Linked DNA regions of Homo sapiens: region 1 is linked to region 2. Evidence: promoter capture Hi-C in human tissues and cell types (Jung and others, 2019). All regions are on one chromosome and are shown on one strand. The core of a region is centred on a gene start or on the middle of the fragment in contact, and the rest is flanking DNA. Distances in the headings are between cores, read along the strand shown.

The links. Contacts are between HindIII fragments. The study calls those that stand out against the background at their distance.
Region 1: a fragment that was not itself captured here is called in contact with the fragment with the promoter of SDK2 in region 2 in 5 of the 25 tissues and cell types used here (IMR-90 fibroblasts, aorta, mesendoderm cells and 2 more).

Annotation. Positions count from the first base shown.
Region 1 is chr17:73,802,022-73,805,390 of GRCh38, forward strand. The region is part of intron 2 of LINC00469 (long intergenic non-protein coding RNA 469); the gene reads right to left. Among named protein-coding and RNA genes, the nearest start is that of LINC02092, 17 kb to the left of the region's middle. The HindIII fragment of the contact is 8,376 bases long and covers 1-3,369 here.
Region 2 is chr17:73,642,954-73,646,264 of GRCh38, forward strand. It overlaps SDK2 (sidekick cell adhesion molecule 2), which reads right to left and starts at 1,492. Exons shown (of 45, transcript NM_001144952.2): 1 at 1,072-1,492. The coding sequence starts at 1,135. LOC124904054 (a long non-coding RNA gene) reads left to right here and starts at 2,521. Exons shown (of 2, transcript XR_007065893.1): 1 at 2,521-2,741; 2 at 2,868-3,151. The HindIII fragment of the contact is 11,047 bases long and covers 1-3,311 here.

The DNA of each region.
Region 1 (3,369 bases), core at 297-2,796, 160 kb after region 2:
GCCCCCTCCAGCATTTTGCCCTTGGCCCTCCTCTCTTCCCATTTTCTGGGCCCTCCTATGGTTTGATTGCACAGATAAATTTTATATCTGTCTTTAAATCCCAACCCTTGCTTCTGAGCTCCAGAATTTGTAAATACAGCTGGCAGTGGGACATCTTTATCTACTTAAGAATCACTGTGCCCAAATGGAGCCCTTTATCTTCCCCACTAAACCTGCTTCTCCTCCTATTTTCTATTTCAGGGACTGGCATTCCCCTACTCTCATAATTCAGAAATCCAAGAGGCTTTCCAGAATCCCCTTTCTCTTTATATCTCATACTCATCTGGCCACAAAACTGATCTTATGCCCAAAATAGCCCAGGACTCTCTTTCCTGTCTTCACTGACACTGTCTTCCTTTCTTGAGCAGATTCATCGGGTAGTCTTTCATCTGTACATCCTCCCTACTGAGCTCGCCCAGAGGCTGGCACTTGGGTAAATGGCAGCAAATATTTACTGAATGAATAAGCCCCATCTCAGGCCGTTCCATTGTCCACATTGCTAGTGGTCCTTCTCCTAAAATCCAGAGATAATTATATCTTTGTCTTGCTTGAAAACCTCCATAACATGCCGTGACTTCCAGGATAGTTTCACCCCATGCTGCCTAATTTTACATGGTTTGTACACCCTCCAACACCATCTCCAGCAGGCACCCATGGCAATACCAGCTCCTGTGTCTCTAATCAAAGGCCCCATCTCATGCTTTTGTGCCTTGCATGTGTTGTCCCTGTTGCCTGGAGCATCATTCATCCGCCATCTGGTCAACCTCTATTGTAATCTAAGAATCACTATTCTGATGATCTATCACTATGTAATGAATAACCCCAAACTTAGTGGCTTAAAACAACAATCATTTTATTACCATATCTTATAGTTCTGGGCTTGACTGGGCTCAGAACTGGGTTCTGTTCTTGTTCGTGGTCTCTCATATGGCTGCAGTCAGACAGTGGCTGGGCTGGAGTCATCTTGAGGACTTTCTCACTCACATGTCTGCCTGGGTCAGTGGGTACCACCTACACATAGGCTCTTCATGTGGCTTGGGCTTCCTCCCAACATGGTGGCCATGTTGTTAGAGCAAGCATACTGAGAGAGAAAGATCAGCAGAAGCTTCTTGACCTTTTCTAACCTAACCTTGGAAGTCCTGTAGCATCACTGCTGCTACAGTCTACTCATCAAGGTTGTCACAAGGGCCTGCCCAGGTTCAAAGGAAGGGGATATTTCACTTCGTGATGAGGGAATGGCAAGGTTCTGAAGAGAGCATGTGGGATGGAAATATTGTTGCAGCCACTGAGGGAAAATATAATCTGCCACATATGACAGCCCCTCCTCCAAGAAGTCCTTGGATGTCCCTTTCCCTCCTCCAGGCTACTCCTGTGCCTCTTGCTAGTATTCCCCACCATATGTGCTGTCATTATTTTTTAGTTTAGTTCATTGAGGGCATGGGCTATCTTTTACTTATCTTTGTGCTTCGCACATAGTTGGTTCTCATTAATTGCTTGCAAATTACTCACTGAGGAAGTGAGAGACTGAGTATGACCTGCTAACCCATAGCAAGGAATGTTCTTTCCAGAGCAGGAAGTGACTTCCCAGGATGGCCACCACTCAGGCAATTGTGGGCAGAAGCCCTGGCTGAAGCTACTCCTCAACTAAAACATACCTGGCCCTCACTGCTGCCATTCAGGACGCCTCTCCCATGTAAGATCTGTTACCTGCTGGCAGGTGTGCACAGGTGAAGCCCTTTGATTCTCCCCAATACCACCTCTACCTTCTTGCTCCTGTTTTAAAATTTCCAGCAGTGGAATGAAAGGTGGCTCCATGAAAGAGGGAAGAGTGTGGGAAAGTTTGGAGGGTTGGTGGGAGGCAAAGGGAGAGGAAGCCCCTTCCTTTCTCCCTCCCATTCCCCATTGGCCCTCTGGAGCCATGGAGCACAGAAATATCCCTTCTCATTTCCCGGCACCATTCCCCAGCTGCCTGGCCAGGATTGCTGGGCCTTGGGAGCAATTGTTTGCTGAGCCATTCAGCGGGCAGCTCCCTCATGGGCACACAGCCCCACTGCCTGACAGGCTGTGTGCAAGGGGACAGGCCTGAATGACTGTAATATGAACCATGAAAGTGGATATTAAAGGCTTTATTACAGGGTGAGGACTGCTAATTGCAACTTTCCTTTCAGGAAGCTGGAGCTGATGAGTTTAAGCAGCGGCACCCAATTATTATAACTCTGTCAGCACAGAGCAGGGGAAAGGTGGGGGAGGGGAGGAGGCAGGCTGAAGGCACAATTACCTGAACTTTATCCAAGGCACACACCGCTGGCCTGGAATGTTAAAGGGAGATTGGTTCTGCTCTGAGCTTCCTCCCTGTCACAGCTGTGTTGTTGTTGATTGCTGATCCCCCAGCCCTTCTCCCCTGCCCTGCAGTCTTCTTGTGGAATAGGTGGCACTTGTGTACATCAAATGACACCCAAGCCCTCCCTGGCCCCTGCTGCTGACGCAGCCCCCTTGCTGAGACCTAAGGCCTTCCACGGCACCTTGGAATCAAGCTGCCCAGGCTTCCATTCTTTAGATGGGAAAGTAGACTCAGCGAAGACAGGAAGTTGCCCAGATTACCCAGCTCTTAAGCGGCAGAGCAGGAGGTAACCGGAGGCTCCTTAAAATTCAGCCCCAGGTATAGGCACTGCCCACCATGTACACGGGCTGAGTATTCTGATGTGCTCCCGGAGGAAGAAAATGCAGCCCTTGCTAGGGAGATGACTTGTAAACAGCATCATCATTCAAACTCATCATTACCATGCTCTAAGTGTGTTCAGTGCTTTACATTTCACAGAGTGCCTTCAGATATTAGTGTGTTCCAGTGTTGCTGAGCACCTACTGGGTGCCAGGTGCTGGAGACAGAGATGACAGATGATGTTTCTGTCTGCAAGGAGATCACAGCTTAGTGGGAAGACACACAAGCCGACCGACAATTATGATACCGAGTCTAAAGTGCTAGATAGAGGTGTCCTCACACACATTACCGCCTTTAATTTAATCACATAAATTTAAGTGAGTGCACATAAAAAGCTAATACTACAAGGTGTGGTCTGCTCAGTGTCAGTTGAGCAGCACAGATAGCAAAAATAGAATTGTTCCCTGTTGGGAGAGCTCACCGTTGCACACGGTGGTCAACGGTGGGTTCACTAAAAAGGCAGCTCTGATGGATAGGTAAGAATTCAAAAGGCAGCGAAAAGGGATAGGAGTTGGGAGTGATGGGGAAGAGAGCAAAGTTTCTTTTTTGCATCCAACTAGAGGGTCTGTATCTGAAATATTGATCCCTCCTTATCCCCATCCAAGAGTATT
Region 2 (3,311 bases), core at 242-2,741:
CCCCCTCCTGAGCCTGCGAGAGTGAAGGCCTAGCCCTGCGAGTCCTGGAGCTCGGTCCAGGCTTCGTCTCCCTCCGCCCCCAGCAGGCGCCGCTCGGACACCGCTGACACCACTGTCTGGATCGGCGAACCCCAAAGTCGAGGAACCGCCGGTGCAGCCGCCCTTCACCTCGGGGACCTGCCCGGGGACCAGGGGGACGTCTGGGCATCCACCCTCAGGAAGCGGGCAGCGCAGATCACACCTCGGATCCTTCGTAGCACTCCCAAACCCAAAGCCACCAGCCCTTCTCCACCGCGAGGCTGCTCCCGGCAGCCACAGGTCACAGCAGCGAGCGGCTGCACAGACTATCGAGCGAACAGCGGAGGCTGGAGGCAGGGGCGGGGATGCTGGGTGTGGGTGGATGGGTAGGAGGGGAGGCCTCAGACCCTCCCTGTGCACCACCCCCCGGTGGGTCCGCGGCTGCACCCGCGACCTTGGCTCCAGGCCCGCGCAGCGAAGCACCCCCAGCCCCAGCGGCTGGCCGAGCAGCCAGGGGCGGGCTCCCGTACGTGGCCAAGCCGGGCAATTGCTCTCCCCGGGCGAGCAACCCGGCATCCAGCGCTCGCCCACCCCACTCCCTCGCCCCGGGGAGGCCATCGCCTGCCCGGCAGGGGCCCTGCCCTTCCCCGCAGACACCGAGCAGGGAACCAGGAGCTCGGTCTGGGAAGCTCAGCGTAGCCGAGCGTGGAGCCCGGCACGGAATGTCGCTCCCCTCCCAAGCCGGCGCAGGGCAGCCACAGCAGACGGGGGGAGGGGAGCGCCCCTCCCACTTCACCTTGGGCTCTTCTCTGCCTCCCCAGGTCGTCCCCACCTTCCCCCATTCGGAAGCCACAAGTCTCGGAGAGACTGCCCCACCCCCAAAAGAGCCCCAAAACTTGGGAGATGGGGTGTCTTGAAACTCCCTGGAGAGGGCTCTGCCACGGCTAAGCCGGGTGTCCAGGAGGTCACCGTGAGGCCGGCCAGCTCCCGCCGCCCCTCCCCCGCCCACTCTCCCAGCCCCCTCCCTGTCCCCACGTGGGGGTCCCTCCTTACCTTGGGCTCTGGCCGCGCGGATCTGATGCAGAGCTAGCAGTGTCCAGATCAAAAGCCCCCACATGGTGACCAGCCTGGAGAGGGGTCCTCGGGGTCTCCCTTCCCTCCGCCCTGTTTTATAATCCTGGTGGGGTCCGATACCCCGTGGCTTAGTCCCAGGAAACAGTCAGTCTACGCGGCTCCGTGCCCCGGGGTGTAATATGCCCGGGAGGGGCAGCGCTTGGCTACCCCAACCCTTCCTCCTCTTCTGTACTAGTCCGAGCCCGGCAGCGCGCCCGGAAGGCGAGGGGCGAGCAGGGAGAAAGAGGCCAGGCCGCCCTCTCGGACTAGGGCGCCTCTCTCCCTTAGCACCCCAACTCCGACTTCTCCCAAACAGGGCGGCCTCTGCGATCCGGCCGGGTCGCCGGCCGAGCTCCGGAATAAATGGACAACTTCAGGAAACTTCCTCCCGTGGCCACGTTGCCCGCCCCCTCCCCGCCCCCTGGTTGGGTTCTCCCGGCCGACGCAGTCACCGCCGTTCCAGGCGCCGGGCCCCCGGGACCCGGCCAGAGCCGAGCGCAGTGGCAGACGCGGGTGCGGGGGTTCTTTTAGGGGCGCCGGTTTCGGGGGACGCGGTGAGCATAGCGGTCCGAATCTCCCTGGAGCTGAAGTTTTCTTCTCTCTAACTTTGCAGGCAGCATCTGGCGGGGCCGAACCACCCCCTCTGGGCTCCACCGCCCTCGCGCCGAATCGGGAGACGCCGGGTCTCCTCCGGGGGCGCTGGGGCCGGGCGCGCCCTCGGCTCCGCGCCCAGCCGGCTAGCAAACTTTGCGGGTCCCGGAGCCGGGCGCGCAGCCCTGAGCGCCCATGTCCGCGCCAGCCGCGGGGCGGCGGGGGAGGGTGCTGGGCTTCGCGACGCGGGCTGTCGCCGGCGCCCGGGCGCAGAGCCTCCTGCCGGCCCGAGGATGGAGACCGGCGGCTCTGCCCTCCGCCGCGCCCCGGCCGGAGCTCTCGGGAAGACGCACGGAGAGCCCGGCGGGCAGCCCCGGCTCCGGGGACGCGGCGCCCCTTCGGACGCCCGGCGATCGCCGACCTCCCGGGCCGGAGGAGCAACGGCCGCCCCAGCGCCTCGGCCGCCGCTGCCGCTCGCCGAGCCCGCCGCCCTCCGCTTCCCGGGCTCGGCGTCCAGAGAGCCGCTCCTGCCTGCGCCGAGCCGGAGCTGCGGGGGCAGCGTGAGCCGGGGACGAGCGCGGCGGAGGCGGAGACGCGGAGAGGGGGGCCGAGCGCTACCCCGTGGCCGCGACTGGAGAGCAGCCTGCGCGCCGGGAGGGGCGGCGGCGGCGGCGGCGGCCCCGAGCCAGGCCCGGGAGCGAGCCCCGCAGAAATACAATCCGACTGCGCGGCCGCGGGCGCCCAGCGGCTCTGGGACCCGCAGGGGGGCAGCAGTGCCAACCTTCTGCCGCGCCGGGAGAGATGCGCGCGAGCCCCTCCGCTCTCTGCCCAGCCTTTCCTTCCAGCCTCGCTCGCGCCCCTGTCTCAAAGGCCTCATAGGACTCCCAGAGTCTCCTATAGTCGGGAGCCCCCAGCCCCCTTCCGGACATGGAGTGATTGGTGGGGAGGCGGCGGTTGGGAAAAGGGGGTCGGTCAACCGATTGATTCCAGTTTCCCCTTCCCAAGTCAGGCTCTCCAAGGTCTGGAAATGCTCAGGGCGGAGGGGGAGACATCGGGAGGCCTGGGACCTGCAGAAGCCTGAGAAAGTGAAGTTGGTGCCAAGGAGCGTGCGTTCTTTGTTTCTTCTTTTTTCCTTCGGAGCCCAGCTTGTAAAGAGTAGAAGAACCGGACATTGGTGGAGGAATTCAAACAAGAGAGCCCGGAGGCGTCCTCTGCTGTGGCCCAGAGCTAGCGCCTACTCCACGAAGCTCAGCTGGGGTTAACAGGCTTCTGTTAAAATTTCCCGGGCACTGGGAAAATTTCAGGTGCCTTCGCCTCGGTGGACTCCTTTCCCTGCTAACAAAATTATTAAAAATAAGATTTTGCAACTGCGTTGGCATAAGGAAAAGTATATTAATATTGCATATTAAAACATGTTCTTCAGCCTAAAGCTTTACTTATTTTTTTCTGATTTTAAAAGAAATCAAAACATTTTCATGGGCCCCAAAAGACTATGGTCCCTGGCACTGGGCCTGCGGTGCTTAATGCAGAAGTCTACCCTGCGTGTCTGATATTTCTTCTGGGAAATAAAGAGCTAGTGAGACCCTCCA